Linked DNA regions of Homo sapiens: regions 1 and 2 are each linked to region 3. Evidence: promoter capture Hi-C in human tissues and cell types (Jung and others, 2019). All regions are on one chromosome and are shown on one strand. Each heading gives the region's core, a stretch centred on a gene start or on the middle of the fragment in contact. The rest is flanking DNA. Distances are from core to core; before and after follow the strand shown.

Evidence for each region. The method cuts DNA at HindIII sites, captures the fragments that hold promoters and counts their contacts. A contact is called where the count stands out against the background at its distance.
Region 1: a contact is called between the fragment with the promoter of NBR1 here and the fragment with the promoter of KCNH4 in region 3, in 1 of the 25 tissues and cell types used here (aorta).
Region 2: a contact is called between the fragment with the promoter of RAMP2 here and the fragment with the promoter of KCNH4 in region 3, in 1 of the 25 tissues and cell types used here (adrenal gland).

Annotation. Positions count from the first base shown.
Region 1 is chr17:43,169,777-43,172,476 of GRCh38, reverse strand. It overlaps NBR1 (NBR1 autophagy cargo receptor), which reads right to left and starts at 1,263. Exons shown (of 21, transcript NM_005899.5): 1 at 1,175-1,263. It overlaps LOC101929767 (a long non-coding RNA gene), which reads left to right and starts at 2,074. Exons shown (of 2, transcript NR_110868.1): 1 at 2,074-2,351. LOC124900391 (a long non-coding RNA gene) reads left to right here and starts at 1,513. Exons shown (of 2, transcript XR_007065760.1): 1 at 1,513-2,061. It also overlaps a transcript of BRCA1 not described here and the pseudogene BRCA1P1. RefSeq lists enhancers at 1,123-1,232, 1,553-1,662, 1,913-1,962, 2,233-2,442. The HindIII fragment of the contact is 14,047 bases long and covers 1-2,700 here.
Region 2 is chr17:42,759,907-42,762,606 of GRCh38, reverse strand. It overlaps RAMP2 (receptor activity modifying protein 2), which reads right to left and starts at 1,380. Exons shown (of 4, transcript NM_005854.3): 1 at 1,249-1,380; 2 at 708-773; 3 at 144-252; 4 at 1-10. The coding sequence starts at 1,345. It overlaps RAMP2-AS1 (RAMP2 antisense RNA 1), which reads left to right and starts at 1,350. Exons shown (of 6, transcript NR_024462.1): 1 at 1,350-1,727; 2 at 1,896-1,972; 3 at 2,094-2,181. RefSeq lists a silencer at 1,177-1,266. The HindIII fragment of the contact is 24,962 bases long and covers 1-2,700 here.
Region 3 is chr17:42,179,735-42,182,434 of GRCh38, reverse strand. KCNH4 (potassium voltage-gated channel subfamily H member 4) reads left to right here and starts at 1,293. Exons shown (of 17, transcript NM_012285.3): 1 at 1,293-1,565. The coding sequence starts at 1,490. RefSeq lists silencers at 862-1,137, 1,144-1,383 and an enhancer at 2,333-2,700. The HindIII fragment of the contact is 13,187 bases long and covers 1-2,700 here.

The sequences.
Region 1 (2,700 bases), core at 14-2,513, 990 kb before region 3:
CACTTTCCAACTTCAAGAAACACACTTCCCTACTTGTGAAGGAAATGAATCTTCCTCTCTTTTTCTCAAATTACACAATTGGAAATTTAGATACTCTGGAGCTCCTCCAGCTGGTGGGCCAACTAAGAGAAAACAGGAAGTGGGAGATTCTAGCTTGGCTGGACCATATCCAGGTCTTCATAAGGAACTCTCTTTGGCTGACATGTAAAAAAATTCTTTCAGCAGGAGCATTAATCTTAAACGTGTGTAAACACCAAAGCTATGGTTAACCCTATCTGCCCCTTAGGTCTACAGCCAGTAGAGTCAGATAGCTGGGTCTTAGGCCTTCAGCTTTCATAACTGGCATTATTGTAAGTCCATGCCACTGACTCACCTTTGCTTGGCACAAGTTAGCTTTTCCTCCACGTCGATTTTTTTTTCAGCCTCAACAAAATCCCTTTAATGAAACAGACCTGGCAACCTGAGCTTTGATTACTGTCTCCACCAGAGGCCTTTACAAGCCAAGTTATCCAGGCTTTAAAATGTGTGACCTGAGGCCGGGAGCGGTGGCTTATACCTGTAATCCCAGCACTTTGGGAGGCCAAGGCACGAGGATCGCTTGAGCTCAGCAGTTCAAGCCCAGCCTGGGTTGGTCTTTGAGAAAGCAAGACTCTGTCTCAAAAAAGTGTGGCCTGAAAGCTGAGTGTTTGACAAAAAGGAAAAACAGTGCCTTTCCAAAACCGAAGGTCCCTAACCAAGGAGATCTCTTTAAGGTCTCGAAAAAACGAGGATGGGATGAGAAGGATGTGTAAGTAGTGTCATTTTTTTACTTGCAGAGTTCATCCTAGTCTTCCAGTTTTCGTTTCCTAGCACTCCATGTTCCCAAGACAGTGTCACTACCCCGAGGGCTCTCTCATTTTCTTTGCCTAGGCCCTCATTCCACTGGGGAGTCGTGGCCTTCCATCAGTAGAAGCCGGATGTTCTGACCCACAGACTCTCCAACTCTCCGGCGCTTCTCGCCAACTCGGTCCCTCTGAACATGAAGGGCTCTCTCATCCTGTCACTAAAAAGATTAGCTGTCCCGAAACACGGAAAAAGTCGCCCCTCTTCTTTGCAGGATTCCTCCCTTGAACTTCCCCAAACCCTCTTAGCGTGACGTGACCCCACCCCTAGGTAACCGCAGCTGCTTCCTTACCAGCTTCCCGCCCCCGGGGGGCGCCTGCCGGAGGCCAATGCAAGGACCGTCCGCTACCGGCTCTGCCGCTATCCCTGTGGGGTGAATCTAACATGGCGGATAAAGACAGTAACTAGTCCCCTGTTTCTCCGAGTGTTCGCCAAGATGATTGGCTCTCACCACTTGTCCCTCAAAACGACCACGCCATTGATTGGTGGAGATTGCGTCGATGGGGCGGGGCAGAAGCAACCTGAACCCGAACAACAATAACAAACATTGAGGCTGAGGGGCGGAACTAGGAGTGCGCAGATGTGGGCCAGAGCGGATTTCCCCTTCCCCAGGCAAATTCGGCGCCCACTGCGTCCCCGCAGGCCACTGACCTTAGAGGACTACTTGCCCGAGACTCGTGGGGCTGGATGGGAATCGTAGTCTTCCTAGGAGTTGTAGGTATCTTTTTTTGGCCTAGTCTCTGCTCTCAAGATAGGAGAACATAACAACACTCCAATCCATTACTGTTGACATGTATAAGCCCGCGGAGGTCTCCAATCTATCCACTGGATTTCCGTGAGAATTGTGCCCGCTTTGGTATTGGATGTTCCTCTCCATAAGACTACAGTTTCCAAGGAACAGTGTGGCCAAGGCCTTTCGTTCCGCAATGCATGTTGGAAATAGTAGTTCTTTCCCTCCACCTCCCAACAATCCTTTTATTTACCTAAACTGGAGACCTCCATTAGGGCGGAAAGAGTGGGGTAATGGGACCTCTTCTTAAGACTGCTTTGGACACTATCTTACGCTGATATTCAGGCCTCAGGTGGCGATTCTGACCTTGGTACAGCAATTACTGTGACGTAATAAGCCGCAACTGGAAGCGTAGAGGCGAGAGGGCGGGCGCTTTACGGCGAACTCAGGTAGAATTCTTCCTTTTCCGTCTCTTTCTTTTTATGTCACCAGGGGAGGACTGGGTGGCCAACCCAGAGCCCCGAGAGATGCTAGGCTCTTTCTGTCCCGCCCTTCCTCTGACTGTGTCTTGATTTCCTATTCTGAGAGGCTATTGCTCAGCGGTTTCCGTGGCAACAGTAAAGCGTGGGAATTACAGATAAATTAAAACTGTGGAACCCCTTTCCTCGGCTGCCGCCAAGGTGTTCGGTCCTTCCGAGGAAGCTAAGGCCGCGTTGGGGTGAGACCCTCACTTCATCCGGTGAGTAGCACCGCGTCCGGCAGCCCCAGCCCCACACTCGCCCGCGCTATGGCCTCCGTCTCCCAGCTTGCCTGCATCTACTCTGCCCTCATTCTGCAGGACTATGAGGTGACCTTTACGGAGGATAAGATCAATGCCCTTATTAAAGCAGCCAGTGTAAATATTGAAACTTTTTGGCCTGGCTTGTTTGCAAAGGTCCTGGCCAACGTCAACATTGGGAGCCACATCTGCAGTGTAGAGGGGGGGAAAAAAACGTGACTGCGCGTCGTGAGCTCGCTGAGACGTTCTGGACGGGGGACAGGCCGTGGGGTTTCTCAGATAACTGGGCCCCTGGGCTCAGGAGGCCTGC
Region 2 (2,700 bases), core at 131-2,630, 580 kb before region 3:
GCTATAAGGCCTAGGGGCAGAAGAGGACTTGAGTGAGAGAGGGGGTGGACCCAGGGAGAAGAGTGCCCCACTCTCACTCAGGGTCTACCTGCAATGAGCAGGTCCACCCCCTGGCCTGAGCCACCCTCCATCACTGCCCCTACCTGCTAATCATGGCCCAGTCGCACCAATCCTTTTCGATAGGATCCATTTGATCCTTATAATGATTCCAGCAAAATTGGACAGCTGTCTCATAGTTCTTCACCGTCCCCCCTGTAGGTACAGATGCTACACAATGACCACACCCCTACCCCTCCCTACAAACCCTCCTGCCCAGGTGCTTGCAAGGTGAACTGCCTGTCTTCAAACGTGGGAACCCTTCAGAAAGTTTCCCTAGCAAAACATTCTGGCTGAGGACAGAGTCCCAGCTCAGGAATCCTATAATGACTTCCATGTGCTAAGCACTTTCCATCCCAGCCTGATAAGAACTTCCACGTACACCTTTTCCTGGGGTCTTCTCGCCCACTTGTGAGGTGGGCAGCTCAGAGCCGTGCAGGGGCTTTGTAGGAGGACAGGGAGAAAGACCACGAGGAACCCCAAGAAAGAACAGAGGGGAGTGTAGTGGGGCATCAGCTGGGGTTGGGCAGGCCTCGTGGGAAAGGAACCCTCCCCACTGAACTTGCTCTCGTCCTTACCCTCGGCCACCCTTCCACACCCTGGGTACCCACCTTCTGACCCTGGTGTGCCTGTGGTGGGAAGAGGCTGAGCCAGGGCCTCGTGGGGATTCAGGACAGCTGTGGGAAGAAACGGGAGAGGAGGGTAACATAGCGGGGACCCCGGCAGTGGAGCCTGCGAGGGGGGTTGGGGGACTGAGACCCTCCGAAAATAGGCTACCTTGGAAGAAAAGGAGGAATAATCTAGCCCCCACGGACGCCTCAGTGCCGGGGAGGGAGGGGCTGGCACCAGCTCCTTGTCACTCACACCCAGGCCCAAAGCCCCCTCATCTCTGGCCAGCTTCCGTCCTCCTAAGCCCTCTTCGAGGGGCCGGGGCCAGCACCCCAGCTTTCCCTGGGTGGGAAGCAGCTCATGCTGCGCCCGCCCCGAGGTGGGGTCAGGGACCGTCCGAGGGCCAGTGCTGCTAGGTACGTCGGTCCTAACCCGCACCCCAGGGCCCGTTCCGGCCTCGGCCATCCAGCCCCTCTCCCCTCTCCCCTCTCCCCTCCGGGGCCTCTCGCGCCTCCCGCCCGGGCCTCGGGGCGCCGCGCTCACCGCCCAGCAGGAGGAGGAGGCGGAGCGCTGCCGGCCGCCCGACTCGGGTCCTAGGGAGACGCGGGCCGCCGGCGCGCTCCACCCGGAGCGAGGCCATCGTGCAGCAAGGAGGCGAGGAGCGGCGGCGGCGCTGAGCCGGGCCCGGGTGTGGGGGCGCCTATATCCCCAGCCCAAGCTGCAGGAAGCCGCGCCGCTTCCTCGGAGGGGCTGGGACGGCGGCGGCCACGTGGGGGGCGGGGGCGACGCTCGGGGCCCGCGGCTGGAGGGGGAGTCGCTGCCTCACCCGCGCCTGGCGCCCGCGGCTCCCTCCGCCTCGCCGGCGTTGGCCCACCCTCTCGTAGCTCACCCCGCGAGGCTGGACAGCTCCCGGAACCCCGGAACCGGGATCTATTTCGGGGGCTCGGCTGCGTGGCGCCCAGGACTCTCCAGGGTCTCCCAGGATCGCTCCCCGAATTCGAGTCGCCCCCTCTCTCTTTCGGGTCTGGAGGGGTCGGCAAGCTGCTCTCCCAGACGTGGAGAAGAGGGAGGGGGCTGGGAGCTCCAGCGGCCTCTCGACGCCGCTGCTTCTAAGGGGCTGTCCTGGGTTGTGGGGGAAGGGGCGCCTGGAGCTGAGCCATGCAGCTCAGGGTTCCTTATCCTATCCCTAGGAATACCAGCTGATGTCAGTCCGCCAGCCAAAACCAGGGAGGAGAAGCGGGAGCCAGCCCTCTGGAGTCGGGAGAAGGTCTGGGGAGTGGGGTAGAGGGGAAAGCAAAGTCCAAATACCTTCCCTTCAGACACCTCCTGGGGCCTAGACCCCACAAACCTGTTGTGGGGAGGGCAAAATACGATGACTACGTTCCCAGGAAGAAGGTGCCACAGCTCTTCAGGACCACGGTTGGGAGAAAGAATGGAGGGGTTTTAGAACCTTCAGTGTGCGACTTCATGTGCCAGGTGAGTGTAACACCATTTTACAGACCGAGAAGCTAAAGCTCAGGGCCAACAGCCCGGGATTTGAATTCAGAAGCTCTGGGTTCTAATTCTGTCTTCTTACTCCCCAGCTATAGAGCCTTGAATGACACGTTTACCTTCAGGACTTCTCATGTGAAATAGGGACATTCCCCTCCTCACTGTATGATGGCAGCTGTGAAAGGGCACTGCACTCGCTAAATGCTAGTTTCCTTTCCTCTTTTCCTAAGTGACTTATCTAAGGTCACACTGTTAAGGAAGCAGCAAGGCTGAGTCTGGGCCTCCGGGGGTCCTGACTTCAGCCACACCACAGCTGCTTCTTGTGTCCTGGGCCAGAGGTTCATTAGTCTGAAGCAGCTGAGGAGCCCAGGAGCTGGTTTGGCCATGACGTTCAAGTCCCAGACACAGCTGTCAGCACCAAACTTTCCTAAATTACTCCCAGACACTGACCCTTGGACTCAGCTGCTGCTGTTGTCCCAGTTTACTGATTCCTGCCCACCACAA
Region 3 (2,700 bases), core at 44-2,543:
CAGGAGGCAGAGGTTGCAGTGAGCTGAGGTCATGCCACTGCACTCCAGCCTGGGCAACAGAGCAAGACTCCGTCTCAAAAACAACAAGAACAAGAACAACAAGAACAACAACAACAACAAAAGTAGAGACACAGAAAAATGTGGCACTTCTTAGCAATCTAACATCCCAGATAATACCTAGCTCAGAGGGTGGGGAGAATTTAGCCTGCCCTCCTTGCCCATAGGGTTCCCACTTTCACTGCTTCAGCTGTTTTGTCGTGGGAAGCAGCCACCCTCAGCCACAGAACTCAGCTGCCTCAATTTTCTGCATAGGTAGTGAGAAAGTCCTGTGTCTAGTCTCACTTTGGTCCCTCTTGCTGCTGTACTGGTTCCATCTTGGAGAAGTTAGAGGTCAAAGTTCACATGTGCATCCTTGGAGATTTGCAAGCCATGACTCTGCCCACCTCGAAACTATCTTTTTCAGAGGTAGTTTCTCCCAAACTTGCCTCCAGCCTCTCTTCCACTTGAAGGGCAGCAGAGAGGAGGATTAAGACAGTAGGAAGAGGGAAAACAGGCAGGCAACTGCCCTTCAAGACACTTATTTTGTACCAAAGACATGCATTATGGTATTACATTCTCACGGTAACTGCATCAGGTAAGAATTATCAGCTCCATTTTACAGATGAGGAAAGTGGGCTTGGAGAGGATATCACACGATTGGTGTCTAGAGCTGGGACTCTACCTGGTGGACTCCAAAGCTCTTTTCATTCCACCATGCTGTGTCTCAGTAGGCAGAGTTCGCCAGGGTGTCTTGGGAAAACTGAGGCAGGAGGTAAGAATGGTGCTTTCTAGAGTTGGGGTTTCAAGCCTTCCCATTGTCCATTCTCTACCAGCAAACTAGCCTCTTAACCCTTGCTGTCTCACGCTGGAGCTACTGGCCTGTGGGTGCTGCGAAATATGTCAACTCCAGTAGGCGGCACTGTGAACCAGACACCAGCCCAGCGTGGACGCCGCGCGGGAAAACCCGCGAGGTGGAGCCACAAGGAGCAGCCAGGGAACCACGTGTGGAGGCGTGGCCAGCCTGGAAGAGGGCGGGTCTGTTATTCAAGCCCCGCCCATCATTTCAGGCCTCCCCTCCCGGTGGGCGTGCCCCGAATTCTCTCCCCGAGAGACACGCGTGGGCCGCTCCCCTCTGGGAGGAGGGCTGCCCAGAGGGGTGCGGGTGTCGCTAGCGGCCCCTCCCCGTGTGGGGCCACGTGGCGGGTGCGGGCCGAGCCCGAGGGGAAGAACCTGGCCCGTGGGGAGGTGGGGGGGACCGAAACGGCGCTGAGCCGAGCCGAGAGCTACGGGGTTCGGAGCAGAGGCAGCGGCAGCGGCAGCGGCAGTAAGAGGGAGGGGAGGAGGCAGGAGGGCGCATGGGGCGCCCCGGCCCCTCCGACAGCGCGCCCCCTCCGGCCCGGCCGCGCTGAAAGCTCCCCAGCGCCGCGCCTTGAACCCACGCCCCGGGGCCATGCCGGTCATGAAGGGGTTGCTGGCCCCGCAAAACACCTTCCTGGACACCATCGCCACCCGTTTTGACGGAACGCGTGAGTGGGACGGAGGTCGGGGCTTGAGGTTCGAGCTGGGGGGCAAGTATCCTCGGGGCCGTCTCGGATCTCCTGGACATGGTGAGACCCGAGGCGAGGGGAGAGAATGGAGGTGCGGGTCTAGGAACTCCCAAAGCCGCGGTGCAGGAACAGGGCGGGGAGTGCCCTGCGAGGGGAGGAGGGGAAAGGGCCGAGAGCACGGGGGCCAAGGTTAGGGGGTGTGACTCGAGGCAGAAGAGGCTCTTTGTGCGGCAGAGCGGAGGAGGGTCCTTCGGAGCCGCCCACTCTCGGGCAGAGCTGTGCTGGGGGCGTGTATGGGGGTATCCGAGACACAGAAGTGGGGCAAAGTGGCCGGGCATTCTGGGGTCTACTCACAGACTCCAGCTCCCACTACCTCCAGAAAAAAAGGAGAAAAGATCAGACTTCAGCAGGACCTAGTTTGGATTGAGGTCGCGCGCCCCCAAATCGTGGGGCGTCAGTGTCTAAGGTGGGTGAGGCAGGAGGAGGGGAGCGGTCTGTGCGACGGTGGGAACTCCCAGCTCGCCCAACGTAGCTTGGGTTTCAGGTTCAGCACCTTGGACAGCCACATCACTCCTCCCCCGCCTCTTCTCCCGCCATTCCCTCTTCCCACTCTGGAACCCAGAGATTCCCCGCCCTCACCTCCCCCAACCCCGCCATTCCCTCGGGAACCCTGGCCGGGATCTGGATGGTGGGGGAGCGGTACCCGAGGGCGGAAACTGAGCCGCCGGGCCCTACCCTCTTCCCCACCACCTTGTTTCCATAGCGCCCATCACCGGGGCAACAGGCCCTGGGATGGAAGAAGGAGGCTGTGCCCAGAGCCCAGTGCCTCCCAGGCACCTTCAGTGTCCCCATCAGCCTCCCTGCCCCCAGACAGTCATCCCTCCTAGAGCACCAGGACTGGTTGTGTCACAGGCCCCATCTCTTAGCTGAGTCTCTGTCCCTGGATGGCCCACAGGAGTCCCCCTGGCCTCCCACCCATTGGAGCTGGAGGGAGACAGCTCGGGTTCTGCTGCTGGGGGTTGCTGGAGCTATACGCTCAATGCCCTCTCCCATTAGACTTTGAGCAGTGGGGCAGATCCCCTGAAAGCAGCTACAAGAATGCTAAAAAGTGGAC